Regions from separate parts of the Homo sapiens genome. Here region 1 is linked to region 2. The links are contacts of gene promoters, found by promoter capture Hi-C in human tissues and cell types (Jung and others, 2019). All regions are on one chromosome and are shown on one strand. Each heading gives the region's core, a stretch centred on a gene start or on the middle of the fragment in contact. The rest is flanking DNA. Distances are from core to core; before and after follow the strand shown.

The links. Contacts are between HindIII fragments. The study calls those that stand out against the background at their distance.
Region 1: a contact is called between a fragment that was not itself captured here and the fragment with the promoter of BCAR1 in region 2, in 2 of the 25 tissues and cell types used here (lymphoblastoid cells and pancreas).

The regions. Positions count from the first base shown.
Region 1 is chr16:75,469,827-75,475,537 of GRCh38, reverse strand. CHST6 (carbohydrate sulfotransferase 6) reads left to right here. Exons shown (of 3, transcript NM_021615.5): 3 at 1-3,486. Among named protein-coding and RNA genes, the nearest start is that of TMEM170A, 8.0 kb to the right of the region's middle. RefSeq lists an enhancer at 3,247-3,889. The HindIII fragment of the contact is 5,677 bases long and covers 1,478-5,711 here.
Region 2 is chr16:75,249,313-75,255,541 of GRCh38, reverse strand. It overlaps BCAR1 (BCAR1 scaffold protein, Cas family member), which reads left to right and starts at 3,918. Exons shown (of 7, transcript NM_014567.5): 1 at 3,918-4,071. The coding sequence starts at 4,060. RefSeq lists enhancers at 1-464, 1,004-1,544, 1,545-2,084, 2,085-2,625, 3,166-3,706 and silencers at 3,706-3,815, 3,876-4,035. The HindIII fragment of the contact is 33,708 bases long and covers 1-6,229 here.

The DNA of each region.
Region 1 (5,711 bases), core at 3,067-5,566, 220 kb before region 2:
CAGTCCCAACAGGAAGGTTTAATCACTGGGGACTGCCCAATGCTGTGACAGGGCACAGAGCTCTGGGTTGCTGTGGGGGTGACTGCATTGACCACTGTTAGTGGTTTGCTGTGTTGACACTCTGTGCTGTGTGACCATGGCTCCTGCCATCAAGAAGTAGAGTCTGTTTCTCCACCTCTGAATCCAGGCTGGTCCTGTGACTTGCTTTGTCCTGTAGACAAGTGTAGTGCAACTTCCTGTGAGCCAGTTTGAAGCATAGGCCTTGGAAGCAAAACTTTACCTCCACCTGTCTTAGGTTTTCAGCTGGGGCTCTGCTGTGATTTGATTGTGTCTCCCAAAGTTGGAACCTTGATCCCCAGTGTTGTGAGGTGAGGCTTGATGGAAAGTAAATTACGCCGTGCGGGTTATGCCCTTGTGAATGGGTAGAGAACATTATTTCTGGGCGCAGGCATGGTAGCTCATGTCTGTAATCCCAGCATTTTGGGAGGTTGAGGTGTGCGGATTACTTGAGGTCAGGAGTTTGAGACCAGCCTGGCCAACAAGGTAAAACACCATTTCTAGTTAAAATACAAAAATTAGCCAGGTGTGGTGGCACATGCCTGTAAGGCCAGCTACTTGGGAGGCTGAGACAGGAGAATCGCTTGAACCCAGGAGGCAGAGATTGCAGTGAGCTGAGATCGCACCACTGTACTCCAGCCTGGGCAACAAAGCGAGAGTCTGTCTTAAAAAAAACCACCATTATTTCAGGAGTGAGTTGGTTATCCTGAGAGTGGTGCCTTTTAAATGAAGGAGTTCATTCTTTGTCTTTCTCTCGCCCTCACTTTGCCCTTCTGCCATATGATGCCTTCCATCATGCTAGGACACAGCAAGAAGGCTCTCGCTAGATGCTGGCTCCTTGATCTTGGGCTTCCCAGCCTCCAGAACTGTAAGCCAATACACTTCTATTTATTATATATGACCCTTGCTGGGTTCAGTGGCTCACGCCTGTAATCCCAATACTTTGCAAGGCTGAGGCAGGAGGATCACTTGAGACCAGGCACTCAAGACCAGCCTGGGCAACATAGTGAGACCCCATCTCTACAAAGTTAAAAAAAAATTAGCAGGGCATGGTGTCGTGCACCTGTAGTCCTAGCTACTTGGGAGGCTGAGTTGGGAGGACTGCTTGACCCTGGGAGGTTGAGGCTACATTGAACCATGATCATGCCAGTGCACTCCAGCCTGAGTGACAGAGCAAGACACCTATCTCTAAATAAATGACCCCATCTGTGGTATTGTTATAGCAAAACAAAACAGATTAAGAGAGACTTTTTAATGAAAAGACAGATTCACAAAGAAAAACAATGTTTTTGTTTCTGTTTTTTTGAGGCAGAGTCTTGCTCTTGTCCCCCAGGCTGGAGTGCAGTGGCGCCATCTTGGCTCACTGCAACCTCCGCCTCCCAGTTTCAAGCGATTCTCCTGCCTCAGCCTCCCGAGTAGCTGGGATTACAGATGTACACCACCACGCCCGGCTAATTTTTTTTGTATTTTTAGTAGAGATGGGGTTTCACCATGTCGATCAGGCTGGGCTGGAACTCCTGACCTCAGGTGATCCACCTGCCTTGGCCTCCCAATGTGCTAGGATTACAGGCATGAGCCACTGTACCTGGCGAAAAACAGTTTGTTAACACAGGCAGCCAACATCACTCAGGATAAGCCTCAATGAAAAGTAACAAAGTGATGGCTTGGAACACTGTCTTACACAGCATTTTTAAAAAATACAATAAATTTGTAGAGATAGGATGACCAAGGACAACAGTTTTAGGCTTCCAAAGGTGGTAAACTATGGGATGGTAAATATCCGAGAGGAAGCTGATGCAACAGGATTTGTCTGCAGCAGCCTCTGGTACCACCTCTGAGTCAAGGGTTGTGTCCAGTGATGGAGAGTTTATATCGTGCCTTTAGGCAGAAAAGGGGAGGGAAACCTGAACTTTTCCTGCACTTTCTGCTTCTTAATTGCCTTCAGCTGAAAATCATTTTTTATGTGAAAAAGGCATAGTCTGAGCTGACGCCTCTGCTTTCCTCCACCTGAAGAGAACCTGCGTGCTGCTCCTTTGCTTCGGACCTCCGCCTCTGCCCGGGAGAAAGCCCAGGCCAGCCTGCTGGACAAGCAGAGACCATGAGAAGGAGAGTTCAGGGGTCCCAAACCAGGCCATCCTAGACCAGCCAGCTCCAGCTGATCCGCACGCAGCCACTTCGGCTACCTTCTACTGGCCAAAGGGAGTCCCAGGGCTCACCCAGATTCAGAGGTGGGGAAACTGAGTCCACCACTTGAGAAGAGTAGCTATAAAGACATATGAGCGAGGCCAGCTGAGCCCAGCACTGCGGCCAAGTCGAAGACTTTAGGAGCAATAAAAGTGCTTATTGTGTTTCAGTCATTTGAGTGTTGTGGTGGTTTGTTACGTAGCATTGCCTAACCGATACACTTGAGAACGGAGGGCTCCTGGCACCTGCAGCTTCCAATTTCCACCAGGGTCCAGGCTCCCTCCCTGCTGGTAGGGCTGTAATTAGTGTCTCCCCTTACCTGTAGGCCCTGTGATGCAGCTAGAAGTGTCTAGGCCCAGCAGTCACCCACAATTAGGGGCAGGCACGCTTGCTGCCTCTGCTCTGGCTGTGGGAGCTCAGAAGGGGCAATCAAAGCACTAGATGGGCTGATGGGTGCATAGAAACAGTGTTGCCTGGAATAGGTCAGAGAACCCACCTATCAAGAGGCTGTTGGGGAATCAATGGTGGGCCTTATTTTTGTTATTTTGCATCAAGAAGATATATTATCCACATCAACACTGTATCAACTCCTCATGGCCACCACAGACCCTGTGTCCCCTAGCTTTGTCTTTGATGTGCCTTTGTCACCCACTCCTACAGACTGCGCCCCACCACTGCCACAACTGCCCCATCACCTCTACAGGGTTAAATCAATGGTTTTAATTTTTGCCTACCTGATGGGTGAAAAATGTTACTTGATGTTTCAGTCTGCACTTCTTTAATTCCTGGGGCAGCTGAACATCTTTTCATGCTTATGACTCAACTGTATTCCTTTTTCATTGTTCAAGGCTGTGCCCATGTTGCTGTTGACTTACCACAGCCTCTTTTGAATATGCTTTGTTATTTTTGTTGTGCAAATGGTTTCTCCTAGCTTGTCATCTGTTTTTTGTTGTTGTTGTTTTGTTAACTTACTTTATGGCATTTTCCCCTCAGGCTTCTTAAAAAAAAAGAAGCTTCATTGAGCTATAATTGATATACAACATCTGCACATAAAGTGTAAAGTTTGATTAAACATTTGTATATACCTGTGAAATCAAATCACCACCTCATCACAATCAAATTTCAAAAAGTTTCACCTAGTTTATCATATTGTTGAATGTGAATCCTTTCCTTATGGCCAGTGGATTTTATGTCTTGTTGAAACGACTTTGTCCTGCTACAGTGATAAAAATGGTCTTCACGCTTGCTTCCAGTACTTTAGTAGTCTAGTGTTTTACGCTTGGATCTAAATTGCATGCAATATTCCTGATCGGTGCGAGTCATCAGTTCTCCCAGCGCCCTCTACTGAATGATCTCACTCATCACACACTGAAACCACCATGGGCTGGAATCTGTCCCTCACCCACAGGCCCACTCCACACCAGTGGATCAGGCGAGCAATTTCTTTAGGTCGAGTGACCCCTATGCTGAGGTCCAGTGGGTTATCCCGACTACCTTCACAAGTTAATGGATTTAGATTTAAGCACCACCTGCCCCCAGCAGATTCTCTTACAATTTAAATATCCTCTCACAGTGCAAATCCTTATTCTGTGAATGACTCTATTCAGACCATGTTCCTTAAGAACCAGAGCTAGGCTGGGTGCAGCTGTAATGCTAGCAATTTGGGAGGCCAAGGTGGGCAGATTGCGTGAGCTCAGGAGTTCGAGACCAGCCTGGGCAACTTGGCGAAACCCTGTCCCTACTAAAAAAAATACAAAAACGTAGCCAAGCGTGGTGGTATGTGCCTGAAATTCCAGCTACTTGGGAGGCTGAGGCATGAGAATTGCTTGAACCCAGGAGGTAGAGGTTGCAGTGAGCCAAGATCGCCCCACTGCACTCCAGCCTGGGTAATAGAGCGAGACTCTGTCTCAAACAAACAAAAAACGAAAGAACCAGAGCTAAAGTCTTGATGAAATGGAAAGGATTGGCCTACTATCCATTTTTCCAAGATGGCAATTCATTCCAGCCAATCGAGCATTTTCTCCTTTGGGAGTAAGACCAGAAAACCTGGCCTGTCCTGCAAGTCTTGTGTTATTCTGCTCCCAGTCCTCAAGAACTCCACTCATTCATTCAACACACATTATGGGTTGAGCACCAACCAGGCACTGGGCTATTATAGGAGCTGGAGATACAGCAGGACCAAAAACAGACAAAAAGCAAAAACCCCTGCCCTAGGCTGGGTGCAGTGGTTCACACCTCTAATCTCAGCCCTTAGTGAGGCCGAGGCAGGTGGATCACCTGAGGTCAGGAGTTCAAGACCAGCCTGACCCATATGGTGAAACCCAGTCTCTACTAAAAATATAAAAATTAGCTGGGCATCGTGGCATGCACCTGTAGTCCCAGCTACTCAGGAGGCTGAGGCAGGAGAATTGCTTGAACCCGGGAGGCGGAGGTTGAATTGAGCCGAGATGGCGCCAAAGGACTCCAACCTGGGCGACAGAGCGAGACTCCATCTCAAAAACAAACAAAACAAAACAAAACAAAACAAAAACCAGCCAGGCGCAGTGGCTCACGCCTGTAATCCCAGCACTTTGGGAGGCCGAGGCAGGCAGATCATGAGGTCAGGAGTTCGAGACCAGCCTGGCCAACATGGTGAAACCCCATCTCTACTAAAAATACAAAAATTAGCCAGGCGTGGTGGTGGTGGTGCACGCTTGTAATCCCAGCTAATCAGGAGGCTGAGGCAGGAGAATCGCTTAAACCTGGGAGGCGGAGGTTGCAGTGAGCTGAGATCGCGCCACTGCACTCCAGCCTGGGCGATAGAGTGTGACTCTCTCAAACAACAACAACAACAACCCTGCCCTTCAGGAACTTGCATTCTGATGGTGGGGAGATAGCTGATGAATAAGCTTAATAAATGGCTACATTATTTAGCATATTAGAAAGTGCCAAGGATTAAAGTAGAGAAGGATCGGGGGATGAGGAATATATGTGTGTAGAGGTGTGAGTTGTAATTTTTAATGGGGTGATCAGGGTAGGTCTCAGTGAGAAAGCGACATTTGAGGAAAGTCTTACAGGAGGTGAGGGAGTATGTTAAGGGCAATCATGGGTAGCCTGTCTGGGAGCAGGAAAGAGCTAACACAAAAGCCCTAAGGAGGGGAGGCATCTGGCTTGTTGAAAGAGCAGCAAGGGGCCAGGGGGTCTGGTGTGCTGGACCGCCTCCTTGGCTTCCTTAGACAGGGCCCAGGAAACCTCCATTTTCTGAGTCCTGCAAGGCTAAATGTCTTTTTTTAACCTGTCAATTCATAAATGAACTAAAGATCGAATTCTAAATTCAAAATAATGTTTCCTAATGTAATACATAATTGATTATGTAACCCTACAATAATTGATTTCTTCCACTTTTTTTTTTTTTTTTTTTTGAGACGGAGTCTCGCTCTGTTGCCCAGGCTGGAGTGCAGTGGCGCGATCTCTGCTCACTGCAAGCTCCA
Region 2 (6,229 bases), core at 2,669-5,168:
GTATTTTTAGTAGAGACGGAGTTTCGCCATGTTGGACAGGCTAGTCTCGACCTCCTAAAGTGCTGAGATTACAGGCGTGAGCCACCTTGCCCAGCCTTGCCTTGGTTTTGAGCTTGCCACTGTGAGTGTCCAGCCTAGGGGGATGGTGTCAGCTCTCATTGGCCCTCCAGAGATACCGTTTCTTCCTGTTCCTGGGGCTGGCAGTGCTCACCTCCGGCCTCAGGAAATCCTCTCCTGCTGCCGCTCCCAGAGCTGGCCATCAACCGAGTCCACCCTCCCTGCTGCTGGGAGGCCGAGGCTTCAGGAGGGGAGGGGGCTGTGTGCCTTTACACTGTGCAAACTGGTTTTAGCCTGCTCTTTTCACTTTAGTTTGTTGTAAGCATTTTCTTGCATTATTTCAGTCTTTGGAAGAGGCCATCTAATAGCTGCAAGCTATTCTACTGAGGCGCTGTGGTTTGTCTCACCGGTCCCCTAGAATTAGCATTGATAGGTGAGCCTGTTTTGCTCCATGCTTTGCTGTCATAAATGCTGCAGTGGACATTGGTGAGCATTGAGCAAGAAAAGTTCTGTGCAGTGGGTCTGTCCTGAAGGCAGATCTCAGAAAGCCCAAAGAGCAGGAACCCTATCCCAGGCTTATCTTTCCACTTGGGTCCAGTATAACCCCCTCCACTCCAGACACTTAGTGTCCTGGTGTGCTGGGTCCACCTGTTTTCTGTACAAACAGCTATTCCAGGCCCTGAGGGGTTGGAGACATCCCTTCCAGCCTGTGAGCTCATCTTCAACCTGGCTGGAGGTGCCAGGCCACTCCTGGGATGACACAACTGTCTGGGAGGGCCCTGTGCTGGTGCCCCGGCCACATATCTGCAGCTGTCTCCCTTGGTCTGGCAACAACCTCTCCCAGCTCCTCCTTATTCAGGGCGTCTCTCCTTGCTGCCAGTCCCACTGTGTGTATACGCATGCGTGTGTGCTGTGTGTATGCAAGTGTGTGCCTCTGCACTTAGGCGTGACTTAACCACCCCCATCCTCCAGACTGGGGCAGCCTCAGATTTCTTCACCCAGGCCAGCCTATCCCATGAGGGCCACCTCTGAGGTCCCACCCAGTCAACAAATGTTTACTGCACCCCTTCTCACCAATGGGGCTAAACTTAGTGGGGTGGGGGTGGTGCTGGCCCCAGTGCTGAGCTCAGTTTTACTGGGGAGGAAGGTGCTTAGGTCTCAGTTGCCTGTCCTTTTGCAGTCTGAGTGTGACAGGGGTGTTTGGCTTTCTGAGCCTGGAGTGCTGCTGTCCCTGTCCCTAGATTCCCTTCCTGCTGCAGGGTGGGCTGAGGTCTAGCAGCCCCATTTCTTCCCTGGCCCTGTCCCTTCTGTGCCCCGAAATGTGTGGGATGGGGCAGTGGTTGGTAAACTGGGTCTCGGTCTCTTCATGTGAAAAATGGGGCTAGGCTGGGTGCAGTGGCTCACGCCTATAATCCCAGCACTTTGGGAGGCTGAGGTGGGTGAATCACTTGAGGTCAGGAGTTCGAGACCAGCCTGACCAATATGGTGAAACCCCATCTCAAAAAAAAAAAAAATTGGGGCTAACGGTGAGCCTGTTTTGCAGGATTGCTGTGTGCACAAAATAAATGCATGGGCATAGGGCCCCTGGCACTGGCTGGGCGCAGAGGCTGTGCTGGGTATGTGGGGCTGCATCCCTGTCCTTGACAGCGGAGGTCCGGGAGGCTGGACTGGGGGTGGGGTGAGGTTCTGCCCCCATATACCCCGGCCAGAGCCTGGCCAGTGGGTGCTCCTCCCCCACCCCCCAGCTACATCCCCATCAACACTGTGGGGCTTAACTTCTGGGGCCTTGTTTCCAAAGCGGAAATGCCATTCTGGGAGGCACAGGCTTTTGGGGGAGGGAATTTAAGTGGAAAAGGAGCAAATTTTTGAAATGCCTGTGTCGGAGCCTGTTTCCCTTGCTGCCTCCTGCTCACACCAGCAGCCCCACCCCCAGTGCTGTTCTAATGCAGCTACTGGGGGAGGAGGGTCTCATCCCCCAAGGTTCCAGCCATCCACCTCCTCTCTGCACCGCCCTCCTTGGCCAACTAGGATGGAGCAGGGGCCAGCTCCCTTGAGGGCCAGGCCTTTTGTGTCCTTGCCCGTCCCTGCAGAGACTGCTGCCTGGGGCCCTGCCAGCAGGGCACTGCCTGCCCATGAGGCCTGGTCTCCCCTCCCCACAGAAGTGGAGGCCCAGGGATGACCTCAGGCTCCTGAGGGTCCCGCTGGTTCAGACCTGCTCTCTGGGAAGCTGGTGTGCCAGCCAGGCTGAGGAGTGGGTGGCTGGACAGGGTCAGGGTGCAGGAGGGGCCCGGCACAGCTCTTGGGAACAAGCAGGAGGAGATGCTCCAGGCAGCTTCCCTGAAGGCTGGCTCCTCTTCTGAGGCGAGGCGGGCTGTGTCGGGGAGGCACAGGGTGTTGGCTAGCTGTTCTGTTCCTCCTGAGGACTCTGGGTCATGCTCTGTCTCATCCCACTGCTCCTTCCTCACCCGCTGTGCTGTGAGTTCTGGCCAATGCTTCCCAAGCCAAATATTGAAGAAATGCAGACGTCCAGTTTTTTGGGAGGGGTGGGACACAGGAGTCTGTTTTTTAACTAGCTCCCCAGAGCACCTGAGCAGCAAATCATGGGCTGTCCTAGCCCCTTTTCAGATGAGAAAGGAGCCCAGAGAGGGGAGAGGGCCTGCCAAGGTGGCACATCTGGCCAGGCGCTGCGTAGGCTGAGCCCTGGGGGTCAGACAGAGGGGCAGCTGCAGGCCCACCTGGGCTTGTGTCTTCCATAGGCCATGCTTGAGAATTCTCTGCTGCGTGAAGCCGGGTCTACCCCGCTGCTTCCCTGCCACCAGGGCTGCCTCGTGGCATCCCATTGCTCAGCCAGTGGCCCAGGATTGTTGACTGAGGGTCCTGTCTGGTCTGGACCAGGCTCGGTCCTATCATCTCCCTGCAGATTGTGCCTCCCTGGCCTGGCCCAGGGGCTCTGGCACCCTGGTTCTGCTGCATGGGGTGACAGTCACTGACCTGCAACCGAGCAAGGGGCAACTCAGGAGAGCCAAGGTTGTCTCCACTCGGTTTCCCCCGAGTGATTCTTCCTTCTATCTCCCTCATTCCCCCAGTGCCGCTCTCCTACCCCATGTCGCTGAAGCAGATGAGTTGGAGCAGGACTCAGGAGGGTACTAGGCCCAGGTTTTAGGCTGAACCTAGGAATGAGTAATGAGAGGAGGCAGATCAGCTGGAGGACCAGCCCGAGTCCCCAGATGTCGGCACAATGCAGGGGAAGGTAGGTGCTGCCCGTGAAAAGCGCTGGGTCGAGAGCTCGCCAGCCTCCCTGCTTGAGGCTTCATTTCCTGGGGTCCTTACACGGTGGGACCGTCTACAGTCGGAGCTGTGGTGGTGATGATTCGTCTCCTACAGGCTGGGGCACGCCCCCTCCCCTTTCCCTCTAGATTCAGATTTGAGTCCCACGGCCCATGGACACGCGATGAATGCCCTGGGGTTGGTTAGCGGGAAAGACAAGTCGACTTGAGGCCATGTCTCGGCTCTGGAGGAAGAAGGCAAACCGGGCAGCCTTCCCAGAAGTGGAGGAGTTTGCGTAGGCCTTCGGTGCGTTCTCGCCTGGGTGGAAGGCGGGGACGTGCATTTGTTGGAGAGCGGTGTCCTGCGCCCTAGGCTGGAAGCCTGGCCTCGGGCAGGGGCCTGGAGCCTCGGGGTTGGAGGTGGGGGGCGGGGCGGGGGGCGGCCCCTACTGGGCGGGCTTCTGTCTGCGCGCCCGCGCCCCCGACAGGCGGCTTATTTGCATGGAGAGCGGCGGCGGCCAATGGGCGCGCGCGGCCGGGCATGCTGGGATCGGGCTGGGCCGGCTGGGCCGTGGCGGCAGGCGGAGAGCGGCTGGACCGGCTCTGGGTGGCCGAGGCGGCAGCTGCGCGGCGGCACCGGGGCGGCTGCGGCGCGCTCGGAGCCCCGAGGGCACGCGGCCCGGGCAGCTCGGTGTGCGCCCCCGCGAGAGCCGGGGCCCCAGGCCCGCCGGACACCATGAACCACCTGGTGAGGGCGCCAGGTGGGGCCGGGCCGCGTACGGGCTTGGAGGCGGCAGCGGGCTGGAAGGGGTTAAGCGAGCGGCATTTCCTGCCGGACCTGCGGGGCCTGGGAACCGCCGGCCGGGGTCCGCGGCCCTGGGATCTCCTTCTGCCCTGGCCGGGAAGCCGGGAGGCAGGAACCGCGGGGGCTCCGGAGCCTGTGCGCCTCGGGTGCGTTGGCGGGGCCGGGCGCGGGGGCCGCCAGCCGGTAGGAGGGTTCCTGTGTCGGGAAAGTGGCTGGCGGGGCCCGCGCTCCCCGGCCGACGGCCGCCTGCTGTGTCACCTTGGGCCTCTGCGCCCTGCCTCCGAGCCTCAGTTTCCTCGGCTGCGAGGAGGGGCCGTTGAGCCTCTGGCGGGTGGTCCGGCTGGTGTGGCGTGGGGACTGCCCACCGGCTCCCGGAGAGGGAGGAGCTCCGGGGGACCGAGGCCGGGCGGGCAAGTGCGTGGCGCCAGCGGGGAAGGCTGCGCAGCCGGAGCACCCGGCTCCAGTTAATGATTCACTCCGGCCGCCGGCGCGGGGTTCCGGGAGCGGAGCGGGAGTGGGGGCGGGCGCGCCGCGGGCTTTGCAGCCCCGCACGCCGAGCGCCGGTGGAAGCCGGGTCCTGGCCACAGGAGTCCTAGCCGCACGCGAGTGTCGCGGGAGGGGGCCAGGGCCGGGTTCTGCAGTGTGGACATGAAGGCTTTGGAGTCCATGGTTGGGGGACCCGCAAGAGCTAGAGCAGGGTCGGAGCTCCCTCTCGAGGGTCCGAGAGGCTGATCGCTGGACCGAGGTGAGGGAGTTGGGAAAGCGGAGATTTGCCTAGGGGTGCGGGGTGAGGGGCTTACGGCCTGGAAGATGTTGGGGTTTCGAGTTCCAGATCGGGGACAGCAGCTCCTTTTCTACCACAAGGCTCCCGTTCCCTCCTGAGAGTCCCTGGTTTCCTTTCCCACACCCCTCCCGGGGCCCGCCGCAGCTTTGGTCACCTTCTCAGAATGACCATGGGTTGATCTCTTCTTTGCTAGTGAGATGTTTCCCATCGCCCTGGGCCGGGACACGCCCCCTCTTGTGCCCATTCCTTTCCCTCGGTGGAGAGTTGGGTGGTGGGGGCTGGCCGGCCTGTGAGAGCAGGTGTCGGGGTGCCTGGAGAATCGGGGCCCAGGTACGGGGGTGGCGGGGCTGTGGGGAAAAGAGCTTTGGGGAGGAGCTGCTGACACTTCCTCCTGGCACTGCTTGCCCGGGAGCTGGGTGGAGGCAGGGCAGGGCAGGGCAGTCCCAGGTTCTGCCAGGAAAGTCACCTTGGGCTGGGGCAGGAGGCTTGGAGCTTCTGGCCGTTACTGTTTGTCTGAGCAGGAGGGTGAGCACTGTGTACTGGTACCATGGCCCCAGGTCTAGGCGAGGGATGGAAATAAGGACAGTGCCACTAGGGCCTCCTGTCTGTACAGGAGGGGCCCTGAGACAGCTCCTCAAACCCCTTTCCCATTATACGGATGGTGCAGATGGGGACACTGAGGTACAGAGAGACAGTCAGTTGTCCTCAGAATTGGATCCAGAACCTCGTCTTCTGGCATGGCCCCCCAGTGCAGCACCACATGTGGCCTCCGAATTCCCAGTCTGGGATTGGGGGAGCTCTGGTCCTTGGGGGACCACCATGCTCTTTTGGAGTTGTCAACTTGGTAGGAACCCTCTGGTTCCAACGCTGTGCCTTTGCGGCCCTCTCCTGGCATCTGCTGTCCCTTTAGGAGGTCCTACCACCCTTTTCTTCTGAGCCTGGACAACTCCTTCCCTTGCCCCCAGGAGCCCACAGCCGGCTAAACCAACTGGTCAGCTAGAACCAACCAGCAGGGGAGGTGCGCTCCAGGGGGGCTTCTAAGAGGAGGCAGTTTTGGAGTCAGAGGTGAAGTGTGGGGAGTGGGATTGGGTGATAGGGAAGTTTCTCCAGCAAAGACACTGGGCAAGCCTCTTCCTTGGCCCCCAGATAAAGGGCTGCAGGGTGGTCTCCGTGTAAGAGGGTGGGGCTCTGCCCTCTGTCAGGCCCTTCCTGGCCCTCCGAGCACAGGAGAGGCCCTGGCTCCACCTGTGTCTTGCTTCCCTGACTTCCTCCCACCTCTACATTCTAGCCTGGGGCAGAAGTAGGGTGGAGGGGTGG